Linked DNA regions of Homo sapiens: region 1 is linked to region 2. Evidence: promoter capture Hi-C in human tissues and cell types (Jung and others, 2019). All regions are on one chromosome and are shown on one strand. Each heading gives the region's core, a stretch centred on a gene start or on the middle of the fragment in contact. The rest is flanking DNA. Distances are from core to core; before and after follow the strand shown. Region 1 holds the start of SPDYC (speedy/RINGO cell cycle regulator family member C). Region 2 holds the start of MAP3K11 (mitogen-activated protein kinase kinase kinase 11).

Region 1 (5,418 bases), core at 1,583-4,082, 440 kb after region 2:
CTCCCAAGCTCCCACACCAGCCCCCAGCTCCTGTCCCATCCTGCACTCACTGCGGAGGGAGTAGGTGCCTGGTTCCAGTTGCATCTGGGGAGGCAAGACGATGAGAAAGTCCCCACCCCAGGCGTTTTTGACCCTTGAGAGATAATTTTGGGAGGGAGGGCGATGACATTCAGAGGTCAGAGAAGGGCACTTGGATGACACAGGCTTAAGCAAGTGGCTGCTGCAGTGCTGGGGCAAACCACAGGGGGAACAGTGGGGCGGCGAGAGGCCAGGGCCCCGGGGAAGGCGAACAGGGACCTGTGGACAGACCCTCTGAACCCCACCATGGTGGGGGCGCCGGTCCCGAGTCCAAGCCCAGTGGAATGGCTCCTTTGCCATGACCTGGGAGGAGCAGAGTGGACAGTAAATGGGGTGGGAACCCCAGCCTTCCCCACACCCCAGGTTGCCTCCCAGCCTCACCTCCTCACAGCACTGGCGGCTCACAACAGCCCGGAAACCCATCCGTGCCCAAAGCTTATCCCTCTGGTGCAGGAATTTCCCCACTCGTAAACACCAATCTTTTCCCAGGGCCCATGGAAAAATCTCACATTTGGGGCCCTCCAGGTCCTCCTCCATGTCGTTTGCAAGGTACCTAGCCACAGAGGCACAAGGTCAGGGAGCAGAGGCCACACATCTGCCCTGTCCCATCTGACACCTCCAGCAAATGCCTCCACTGCCTGCCCCCACCACTCACAGGGCCAAGAACAGGCTGCTGTGGGTATACTCGCTGAGCTTCAGGTGGGCGCGCTGGAAGTAGACCAGCACCATGGCCAGGAGATACTGCAGAGACAGATCGGGGTGGGGGGTTAGTTATTCTCTGAGGAGGAGGGGCTTGCACCCAGGTTCATTTGCACCCAGGGAGGTTTTGCTGCAGGGAAAGAAAGTCAGTAAAATGGTGGGAAGTGGTGTGCAAAGATGAGGGGGTAAGGATGGAAGGTGAGTGGCTCTCCCTACCAGACCAGGGCACTCAATTCCCACCAACTCAACCTGACCCTCAAGAGACCCCCAGCCTGTACTCCCTCACCTTATCTGAAATCTGGAAGCAGGGGTCTTTGGAGAGGAATTCCTGGACAAAACTGTCCTCTGAGGGTAGAGAAGACATGACAGGACGCAGGTTACCACCACCTCCATGGAGAAGAGTGGCATCAGAAGCTCCAAAGCCCAAGCCACCACTGAACCCTCTCTCTCTTTCTCTTTTTCTCCCTTTTTCTCTTTCTCTCTCTCTTTCTTAATATAAATAGAAATGGAGTCTCACTATGTTGACCAGGCTGGTCTTGAACTCCTGGCCTGAAGTGATACTCCCATTTCAGCCTCCCAAAATGTTGGGATTATAGGTATGACTCACGGTGCCTGGCCCTGAATCCAGTTTCTGAGAGGACACCCCTCCCACCTGCCTAAGCTGGGATACCTGAGAGGGAGAGGGTCAGAGGTCTCAGATGTCTGTACAGGCAGGTGAGACCCCACACTTCACATCTGCTTTCACACTTGACCTCACGGCCCCTCCCGTGCCAGCCCTCCAAACTCACCCAGAAGGCTGAGGAAGGCCTGGACCTCCTGGTGCTGGCGAAAACGGAGGAACCCATTGCCCCCACCTTGCCGGCTGCAGCCCCCCAGCTCTACCTGGGTGGTAACTACAGGGGAAGTGGTGGGGTCTTGGGAGTCACTCATCTCATAGGAGATGGAGATGGGGCAGGGTGACCTGTAGAGAAAGGAGGCTCAGGACTTAGCATGTACCCCCGTGATGCTCACAAATCAAGAGGGTGGTGACAGGGGCCAGGACGGTGGAGGGGTGGGTGCAGAGACTTGGGGGCTCAGAACAGAAGGCAGCCGGGATGCAACAAGAGTGGGGAGGCCAGAAAAGAAGCAAAGAGTTGCTATAGGTGAGGGTGTGGCACCCTCACCCTCCTCCTGGCACCCCAGGACAGGCCAGAGTAACAGCAGCAACAAGCACCGCTGAGGGCTTCCTAAGTGCCTGGGGCTGTGCTTAAGGGCCTTATCTTATTCCATCCTGGTAAGGAGGTAAGTTTAACTCAGACCGGTCGTCAAACGAGGAAACTGAAGCTGAGGCCTAACAGCCGGTTAAAAGTGAAGCCCTTGGTCTCCAAAACCCCAAGAGGTTTTTTGGTTTTTGTTTGTTTGTTTTGAGACACAGTCTCTCTCTGTCGCCCAGACTGGAGTGCAGTGGCGCGATCTCGGCTCACTGCAACCTCCGCCTCCCGGGTTCAACTGATTCTCCAGCCTGAGCCTCCCGAGTAGCTGGGATTACAGGCATGCGCCATGCCACCACGCCCGGCTAATTTTTTTTGTATTTTTTTGGTAGAGACAGGGTTTCACCGTGTTGGCCAGGCTGGTCTCACACTCCTGACCTCCCAAAGTGCTGGGATTGCAGGCGTGAGCCACTGCGCCTGGCCAAAAAAAAAGAAAAAAAAAACCCAAGAGTTTAACTGCTCCTCTAGGCCCCAACTCACAACCACCCCCGACCCCTCACCAAAGCAGAGTTGAAAGGGCCACTGATCCCTTACACCGAGGGGAAACTGAGGCCCTCAGGGAGGAATGAAATTAGAAAAATACCTGGATTTAGAGCAAGTTGATGGGGCCACTTCAAACATTTCAAGCTCCCGTCCTAAACCCACCCTCATCCCTGAGAGAGAGAAGCCAACCACGGGGCCGAGGAGAACGTGCGGTCGACCACCCCAGGGCCAATCTGGGCCCCTCCATCTAGGCGCCCGCAAGCAACCCAGCCTCCTCCTGCAGCGAGCCTTACCCGAGCTCAGGAATGGCCCAGAGCATAACACCAACGCCGCCGCGAGTGCGCTTATATAGCCTGAGGGCGGCCCTGCCCAAAGCAGCCCGTCCACCAATCAGGGCCTTCCTGGGGGGCGAGGCTTGGCCTTCACCGCCTGCCTCTCTGCCAGTGAGTCCAGTCGGCACCCAGCTGTGGCTCCCCAGGGTTTGAAAGCCTCTCCAAAGCTTCATCAACTACAAGAGGGGTGAAGGCAGGCCAGCTGGACCCCAGGGCCTAAGGCCCCATAGGACAGGCAGGGAGCTAGGATCCCTGTTCCCCTCTTGACAAATGCAGCGCCAAGGTGCTGAGCCGGGATATGAGACCCGGACTGCGAGGGCCTGGTGGGCGAGTTTTTTTTCATTGATTGTGCCTTGCTAGGGCAGGGTCTCTGGCTCTCTATGGGTGTCTCTGAATCTCCTGGCCTCCTTGAGTCTCTAGGTTTCACTGAGGCCCCCCGAGTCTCTCTTTTGTTTCTTATTTTATTTTTCCCCTCGTAACACAGAACAAGCTGCCTGGGTCTCAGTGGGCCTCTGAGTCTCTCAGTTTCTTGTTGCCTCTGGTGTCTGGATGTCTGTGGATCTCTGGGTCCTTTGTTTTCTCTCTGATCTCTGGTCTCTGGTGTATCTGCTGTTTCATGGTCTCCCCCAGGCCGCCTCCCAGGCTCCCTGAGGCCGTGAAGGCCTTTCTAGACCAGCTGGTCTGCATCAGGCCATCCTGTTTGTGTGTGTGCACGCATTTGAAGTCGGCCTCCCCTAGAAAGGAAGTAGTGAGTGGGGCAGCATCCATAGCCCGTTCACTAAACACCTACTGCTGCCTACTGAGGAGTCTGTGATGGAATCAGCTCACGTGTTCCTCACAGCAAGCCCGTGAAGTTGATGAGAATGATGAGAAGCCTCATTTTGTCAGCGAACAAACAACTAACACACAGAGTTTGGGTTGCTGACCGACAGGCTGAGTAACTTCCTGCCAGCCACTCAGCTGGTAAGTAGAGATAGAGTTCCAGCCTGGCTGCTGGGCCCACACGCTGGGTAGCCTGGCTGTGTGGTCTACAGCTGTTCCTGGACGCTGCCTGCACAGAGAAGGTGTTCCATGAAACCGAATGAATCTCCTAGACCAGCTGTGTTTTCAACTGTTCTCCTCCTCCCCCAGTAATTAAGGTTAGAGATCAGGAAGGTGTACCAAAAAGAAGCCTGGGAGTGGGCTAGTCACTTTAACTTTGGGAGGGCCTTCAGGCTGATTTCCTTCAGTGCCACCCCTGGAGATCTGACACCGATCTCCCACACTGGGGAGAATATTTGTTTTTACTTTTTTTTTTTTTTTTTTTGAGACGGAGTCTCGCTGTGTTGCCCAGGCCGGAGTGCAGTGGCCCAATCCCGGCTCCCTGCAACTTCCACCTCCAGGGCTCAAGCAATTCTCCTGCCTCAGCCTCCCGAGTAGCTGGGACTACAGGCATGTGCCGCCATGCCTGGCAATTTTTTTGTTTTGTTTTGTTCTCCTGACCTCATGATCCACCCGCCTTGGCCTCCCAGAATGCTGGGATTACAGGCATGAGCCACCATGCCCAGCCTTTCTCTTTCACTTTTCAGAATCCCATGATTCACTGGGCTCTTCAATCTGCCCAGATAATCTCCCCATCTCAAGATCCTTAACTTGGCTGGGAGAGGTGGCTTACCCCTGTAATCCCAGCATTGTGGGAGGCAGAGGAGAGCAGATCACCTGAGGTCAGGAGTTCAAGACCAGCCTGGTAAACATGGCAAAACCCCTCCTCTACTAAAAATACAAAAATTAGCGGGGCATGGTGGTGCATGCCTGTAATCCTAACTACTCGGGAGGCTGAGGCAGGAGAATTGCTTGAGCCCTGGGGGTGGAGGTTGCAGTGAGCTGAGATCATGCCATTGCACTCCAGTCTGGGCAACAGAGCAAGACTTGGTCTCAAAAAAAGATCCTTAACCATCTGCAAAGTCTTTTTTGCCATGTGAGATAACATATTCTCAGGTCTGGGAAGTGAAATGTAGCCATCTTTGGGAGTCCATTATTCTGCCTGCTACAATTATCACAGCAAAATTTATTCTATGCTAACTAATATACTATTTATAAAATTTATATTCATGTAAATGTATATATAATTTGTAAAATCATATATTAATATTGCATGCTATAAAGGATACACGTAAAAGGATATAAAAGAATACACATAAAACATAATAACATACTACCAGCTCAAAAAATATATATATGGCCAGGTCCATTGGCTCACGCCTATAATCTCAGCACTTTTTGGAGGCCGAGACAGGAGGATCATTTGAGTTCAGGAGTTAGAGACTAACCTGGGCAATACATCAAGGCCCCATCTCTACCAAAAATAAACTAGCCTGGCATGGTGGCACGTGACTGCAGTCCTATCTACTCAAGAGGCTGAGGTGGGAGGATCACTTGAGCCCAGGAGTTCAAGGCTGCAGTGAGCTATTATCATGCCATTCTACCCAGCCTGGGTGACACAGCAAGACCCTGTCTCTAAAACATGAATAAATAAATAAATAAGAATATTAAAAATTTCAAAATATAAAGATAGAAAAAATAATATGCAATTACTA
Region 2 (5,780 bases), core at 2,964-5,463:
GTCATCTGAGGGGACCCCGGCGTCTGGTGAGGCAGGCAGCTCAGCCTCAGAGGGTGGGTCTGTGTCGCTGCCCTCAGGGGCTGGCCCCCCTGGGGGGCTGTCCAGATGGGTGGAGTTGGTCTTCTCACTCTTGAAGCTGCTCAATGTCTCCCTGTCAGTGCCGCTGAAGCAGGAGTCTGAGGAGCCGGCTTTCTGGGGCGTGGGCTCCCCTGAGCCCCGCCGGTCAAGGGGCTGATAGCCACCTGCCCCCCTGCGTTGTTCCCGTCGACTGCTGGTCCTCACCAGGGCCCGGTCAGGCTGGGTCAGGGTCAGGAAGCTCTTGCTCAGCTCCTGGCTGAGGCTCCCCTTCAGCAGGGGGCTCATGGGAGTGTCAGCCATGCTGCTCCCACTCCAGGGCGCTCCATCTCCAGCCAGGGGAGAAGGCTCTGAAGAGTCTGTACTGGCAAGAGAGGGGTCTGGGACAGCCCCTGGAGGCGTCTGGGGAAGGTCTCCAACTGCCAAAATAAAGGGAAACAGAAAATGAAAAAAGGGTTTTCTGCAAAACAAACTAGTGGTTAAGGGAGGTCTTATGCCCTGTACTTTCCCTGAGAGCCCAGCCACAGCAGCACACTGGGGAGGTCCCACAGAGGAATACAGAGGAGACCCAGGATGGAGCCAAAGTTGAGGGGATTCAACAACGAAACAGCTGGTCTAGCCCACAAGCCTCGGCCCCATAAGGCCCACGCACTCAGTTTCTCCTGCGAGCTGAGCTTCAGCATCTCTCGGTCGGCAGAAGTCACGATCACATTGTTGCTGCCCTGCTCCCGCACCAGCTCCTTGATGTCTGCAACCATGGCCCCAGAGGTGTCAGCAGGACCCCCTGGCACAGCACGCCAGCCCCTGTTCCACAGCACTATGCTCCAACCCTGAAGAGCAGCCACCTACCTCTAAGGGGCCCAGAGTCCTCCATTCGGGGCAGCAGCTCCTGAGTAGACAGAGAGCCATGAAGGAACAAACAAGGCAAGAAGTAGGCTCAGGATGCACCCACAGTAGGGACTGGCTCGCAGAGGGACAGGAGGACAAGCTGAGGTCCAGGCCCACTCACCGAGACCTGGTTGAAGCCAAACACAGAGTGCTGGGAGCTGCAGCGCACCGGGGGTGTGGAACTGACTTTCCGGAACACTGTCATCTCCACTCCGGGGTCCCTGGCGGTGAAAAAGAGCAGCAGCTTTGAGCTAACCTCTCCTCTGTGTATGCTACTTCCTCCCATCTTTGTCACTGCTTCTTTTTCAGAAGTCACTTTACAATTCCAGGGCTAACACAGGACAAGTGTTCACAATCACTCAGAGAGCCAATGTTCCCTAAGCCCCTACTCCACCCTGCAAGGTTCCGGCCCAGGCACCAAAAACCCTCAATCCCCAGCACAGCCCCTACCCCACCCACCTGGGTGGATTGCTGTCCCCCTGGGCAGGCTCTTCCTCCAGCTCCCCCATGGTAGAGCTGCGCTTCTCCACGATCTCGCCCTGGTCAAACATGGCATGAAGCCGATAATTGACAGTCTTGATAGTAGCAAAGATGACAGCCACCACGAGGCAGTACACGCCGGCCACCATCAAGCTGGGAGGCAGGACCTGAAGATGAAAGTAAGCCAGGTCCCTTTTCACAAAGCCTCGCCCCCACAGGATGTACCTGCCATCAACATCATAGCTGGGATTCACAGACTCACAAGAAAATTTCATCACCTCTCCACACAACCAGTACACAGACCTCGACAAAGGGCTCTGTATTCTGCTTAGCTGGATGAGATTAAGTGTAGGGTTCAAGGTCACTCGATCCAAGAAAGGAAGACTTTGGCCCCTCTTCCACACAGACCCAAACTCTGCAGTGATTCCTCTCTCTCCACGTCCCAGAGCCCAGGGCACTGCCCTGAATCCCTGCCAGGCTGCCCTCCCTCTCCCGGCTGGAGTTACAGGTGGCCGTGGCGTCTCACCATGTACAGTAAGAAGGGAAAGATGAGCAGGAAGATCCAGACATAGAGGTGGAAGCAGTTGGAGAAGGTGCTCTGGTGCGGGTCGAAGAACCAACCGCCGGTGAGCGAGGCCCACACCCCCTGGCGCAGGATCTGCAACACCTGCGACCCCATGGCCCCGCCGCTGCTGCCCGCGCCCCCCCTCCCGGGACCCTCATGGGGGCGGCCCCCGGCCCATGCCCCGTCTGGCGCCTGAGGGCCCCGGGGCCCGGCCTCACGCTCACGCCATGGCCTCCCCCAGCGGGGGAGGGGGGCTCGGCCGCGCGAGGGTGCGAGCAGGGGGCGGGGCCGGCCGGGACAGTCAGTGGTGCAAGGCCCGGACGCGGGGGTGGGGCTGCATCAGGGGCGGGGTCCGGGTCCCCACTCCTGGCCCAGAATTGCTCCGAGGGGCCGAGCCGGCAGGCAGGCGCGGGGCACGGGCCGGGTACCCGTCGGCGGCATCCAGAGGTGGTCGTGGGGTGGGTGCTCCCGGGGTGCAGGCGACAGCTCCCTAGTCTCCGGACCAGGGAGAACCCCAGGATCTGGGGTCCACTTTCGGGGTCGCAGGTCACTTGCTTGGGGCTCCGCGCTCGCCCGGCTTCTGCTGGTGCCGGCCTAAGGAGGAGGCCGGAAGAAGGAGCCGCGAACCGCCAGCCTGCAGTGGCGCATGCGCCCAACGATTCCAATTGGGACCCGGAAAAGGAAAACTTGACGGCATGAATGCGCAAGCGCAGAAAGGTGATGGCGCGGTAGGACGCGAGGGGTGCCCTTTGGGCGTGCGCAGACTCCAGGACTAAAGCAAGTTCGAGCGTAAAAGCGTTTGGGCGCATGCGTAGACCCAGGCGTTGCCAACCCAGGGTAGACGACTGGGCGGAACCAAAGAGACAGTTGAGTAGCCATTGGGTAACGGCAAAGTAATTGGCGCACAGCTCTTCCAATGAGTTACAGGAGGCGGGGAAAAGGTGGAGGCGTGGACTCCCCTAGTAGCAGCGAGAGTTCTGCACTACCGAAGCACGCCCCTCTCGGCCCGCCCCCTTTAATGCTGGACCTCGTACGTCACGACCGATTTCGCTCCCAGCGGCGTCTACTTCCGGGTCAGAGCTCAGACCTAGGGTGTAGAGAACAACCTTCCGTAACAGGCAGGAATAGTCGAAATAGGATAGCGTCGTCTTTCTTAAAGTGACAGGCTCAAAGCAATTGGGGCAGCCCTATCCAGAAGTTGTGAGGGCGACTCAGCTATTCTGAATCCAATCCTGGGCAAAGTTCTGGACAAGTCTCAGGTTTCTGCCAATGGGGAAGGGATATGAAGAAGCGGATTGTTTCCCAGGTGAGGAGAAGAAGAGAGCCTTAGGCAATCCACTCCAAGAGCTTGAGGTGCAGCCAGTTCCGTCTGTCCTCCAGTCTTCCCCACCCCATCCAACTAGCTCTACGAGGCAGAGCTTTCTCGTCCTCATATCATATATGAAAAGAATGGCCGGGCGCGGTGGCTCACGCCTGTAATCCCAACACTTTGGGAGGCCGAGGCGGGAGGATCACGAGGTCAGGGGTTTGAGACCAGCATGGCCAACATGGTGAAACCCGTCTCCACTAAAAATACAAAAATTAGCCGGCCGTGGTGCCACGCGCCGGTAGTCCCAGCTACTCGGGAGGCTGAGGCAGGAGAATCTCTTGAACCCGGGAGGCGGAGGTTGCAGTGAGCTTAGACTGCGCCATTGCATACCAGCCTGGGCGACAGAGCAAGACTCCGTCTCAAAAGAAGAAAAAAGAAAGAAAATAATGAGGCTCAGAATCGATGGATCGCACAGTCCCACAACTTCGCAGCCAAGACCAGACTCGGGTTCACCCCCTTCCCAAGTGTGGTTCTGTAACCCCGTTTTGCTGCCGCCGATGCGGATGCAGAGGGCAGAGATGGCCCATCCTTAGCAGAGACCAACCTCCACCCTAGGCAGCAGAGCACGCAGCTGGGGGCTTTTCTTTCTAGATCTCAAAAGCCTGCTGTGATGGGGGATCTGGTTCTGCCCTTTCCCTCTCTGCCTCTCCTGGCCCGCCTACCCGGGAACTCCCCGCCTGGAGCCTCTGGGAGGGGAGCGGTGCAGGCCGCCCGCGTCATCTGATGCTGTTTCCTGCAGGAGGGAGAAGAGCGGAAAAAAGTGAAACTCCACCCTCCACCTCTGCCTCCCGCCCCCGGGGCCAAAGTACAAAGGGAGGAGGAAGAAGGGAGCGGGGTCGGAGCCGTCGGGGCCAAAGGAGACGGGGCCAGGAACAGGCAGTCTCGGCCCAACTGCGGACGCTCCCTCCACCCCCTGCGCAAAAAGACCCAACCGGAGTTGAGGCGCTGCCCCTGAAGGCCCCACCTTACACTTGGCGGGGGCCGGAGCCAGGCTCCCAGGACTGCTCCAGAACCGAGGGAAGCTCGGGTCCCTCCAAGCTAGCCATGGTGAGGCGCCGGAGGCCCCGGGGCCCCACCCCCCCGGCCTGACCACACTGCCCTGGGTGCCCTCCTCCAGAAGCCCGAGATGCGGGGGGCCGGGAGACAACACTCCTGGCTCCCCAGAGAGGCGTGGGTCTGGGGCTGAGGGCCAGGGCCCGGATGCCCAGGTTCCGGGACTAGGGCCTTGGCAGCCAGCGGGGGTGGGGACCACGGGCACCCAGAGAAGGTCCTCCACACATCCCAGCGCCGGCTCCCGGCCATGGAGCCCTTGAAGAGCCTCTTCCTCAAGAGCCCTCTAGGGTCATGGAATGGCAGTGGCAGCGGGGGTGGTGGGGGCGGTGGAGGAGGCCGGCCTGAGGGGTCTCCAAAGGCAGCGGGTTATGCCAACCCGGTGTGGACAGCCCTGTTCGACTACGAGCCCAGTGGGCAGGATGAGCTGGCCCTGAGGAAGGGTGACCGTGTGGAGGTGCTGTCCCGGGACGCAGCCATCTCAGGAGACGAGGGCTGGTGGGCGGGCCAGGTGGGTGGCCAGGTGGGCATCTTCCCGTCCAACTATGTGTCTCGGGGTGGCGGCCCGCCCCCCTGCGAGGTGGCCAGCTTCCAGGAGCTGCGGCTGGAGGAGGTGATCGGCATTGGAGGCTTTGGCAAGGTGTACAGGGGCAGCTGGCGAGGTGAGCTGGTGGCTGTGAAGGCAGCTCGCCAGGACCCCGATGAGGACATCAGTGTGACAGCCGAGAGCGTTCGCCAGGAGGCCCGGCTCTTCGCCATGCTGGCACACCCCAACATCATTGCCCTCAAGGCTGTGTGCCTGGAGGAGCCCAACCTGTGCCTGGTGATGGAGTATGCAGCCGGTGGGCCCCTCAGCCGAGCTCTGGCCGGGCGGCGCGTGCCTCCCCATGTGCTGGTCAACTGGGCTGTGCAGATTGCCCGTGGGATGCACTACCTGCACTGCGAGGCCCTGGTGCCCGTCATCCACCGTGATCTCAAGTCCAACAACAGTGAGTTTCTGGGGGCATGGTTGGGGGTGGCATGGCTCTGGTACACACCTGCTCCCAACCTTCCACTGAGCCTAGCTTAGGGTCTACTGCAGGTAGGAGCTCCCACCCTAGGGGGTCCCAGCTGACCAGGGGTGCCCATGGGCTCAAGCTAGCCCCCAAACAGAGCCCCAGGCACCCAGCAGAGTCTTCCTGCGCCAGCTTCAGAAGTCCTTGACCCCAGCCTGCAGCTGCGGTTTGGACAAGTTAAGAAATTGGTATCTCTCAGGTGGGCCATAAGCATCCTGCCCAGCCATGGCTCCCACCTCAAGGAAGTCCTCTGGAAGCTCGTGCTCCTCATCTTCTCCTCCCCTAAATTCATGTTCGT

What was found. The method cuts DNA at HindIII sites, captures the fragments that hold promoters and counts their contacts. A contact is called where the count stands out against the background at its distance.
Region 1: a contact is called between the fragment with the promoter of SPDYC here and the fragment with the promoter of MAP3K11 in region 2, in 1 of the 25 tissues and cell types used here (spleen).

What each region holds. Positions count from the first base shown.
Region 1 is chr11:65,167,647-65,173,064 of GRCh38, reverse strand. SPDYC (speedy/RINGO cell cycle regulator family member C) reads right to left here and starts at 2,832. Exons shown (of 7, transcript NM_001008778.3): 1 at 2,804-2,832; 2 at 1,566-1,738; 3 at 1,064-1,122; 4 at 734-819; 5 at 460-631; 6 at 51-381. The coding sequence starts at 1,707. The HindIII fragment of the contact is 3,474 bases long and covers 1,762-5,235 here.
Region 2 is chr11:65,612,654-65,618,433 of GRCh38, reverse strand. It overlaps MAP3K11 (mitogen-activated protein kinase kinase kinase 11), which reads left to right and starts at 4,213. Exons shown (of 10, transcript NM_002419.4): 1 at 4,213-5,416. The coding sequence starts at 4,678. PCNX3 (pecanex 3) reads right to left here and starts at 2,658. Exons shown (of 35, transcript NM_032223.4): 1 at 1,970-2,658; 2 at 1,423-1,610; 3 at 1,085-1,184; 4 at 925-964; 5 at 728-823; 6 at 1-494. The coding sequence starts at 2,122. RefSeq lists silencers at 2,164-2,413, 4,424-4,603 and enhancers at 3,034-3,123, 3,184-3,233, 3,116-4,002, 3,744-4,173, 4,891-5,778 and 2 more. The HindIII fragment of the contact is 27,885 bases long and covers 1-5,780 here.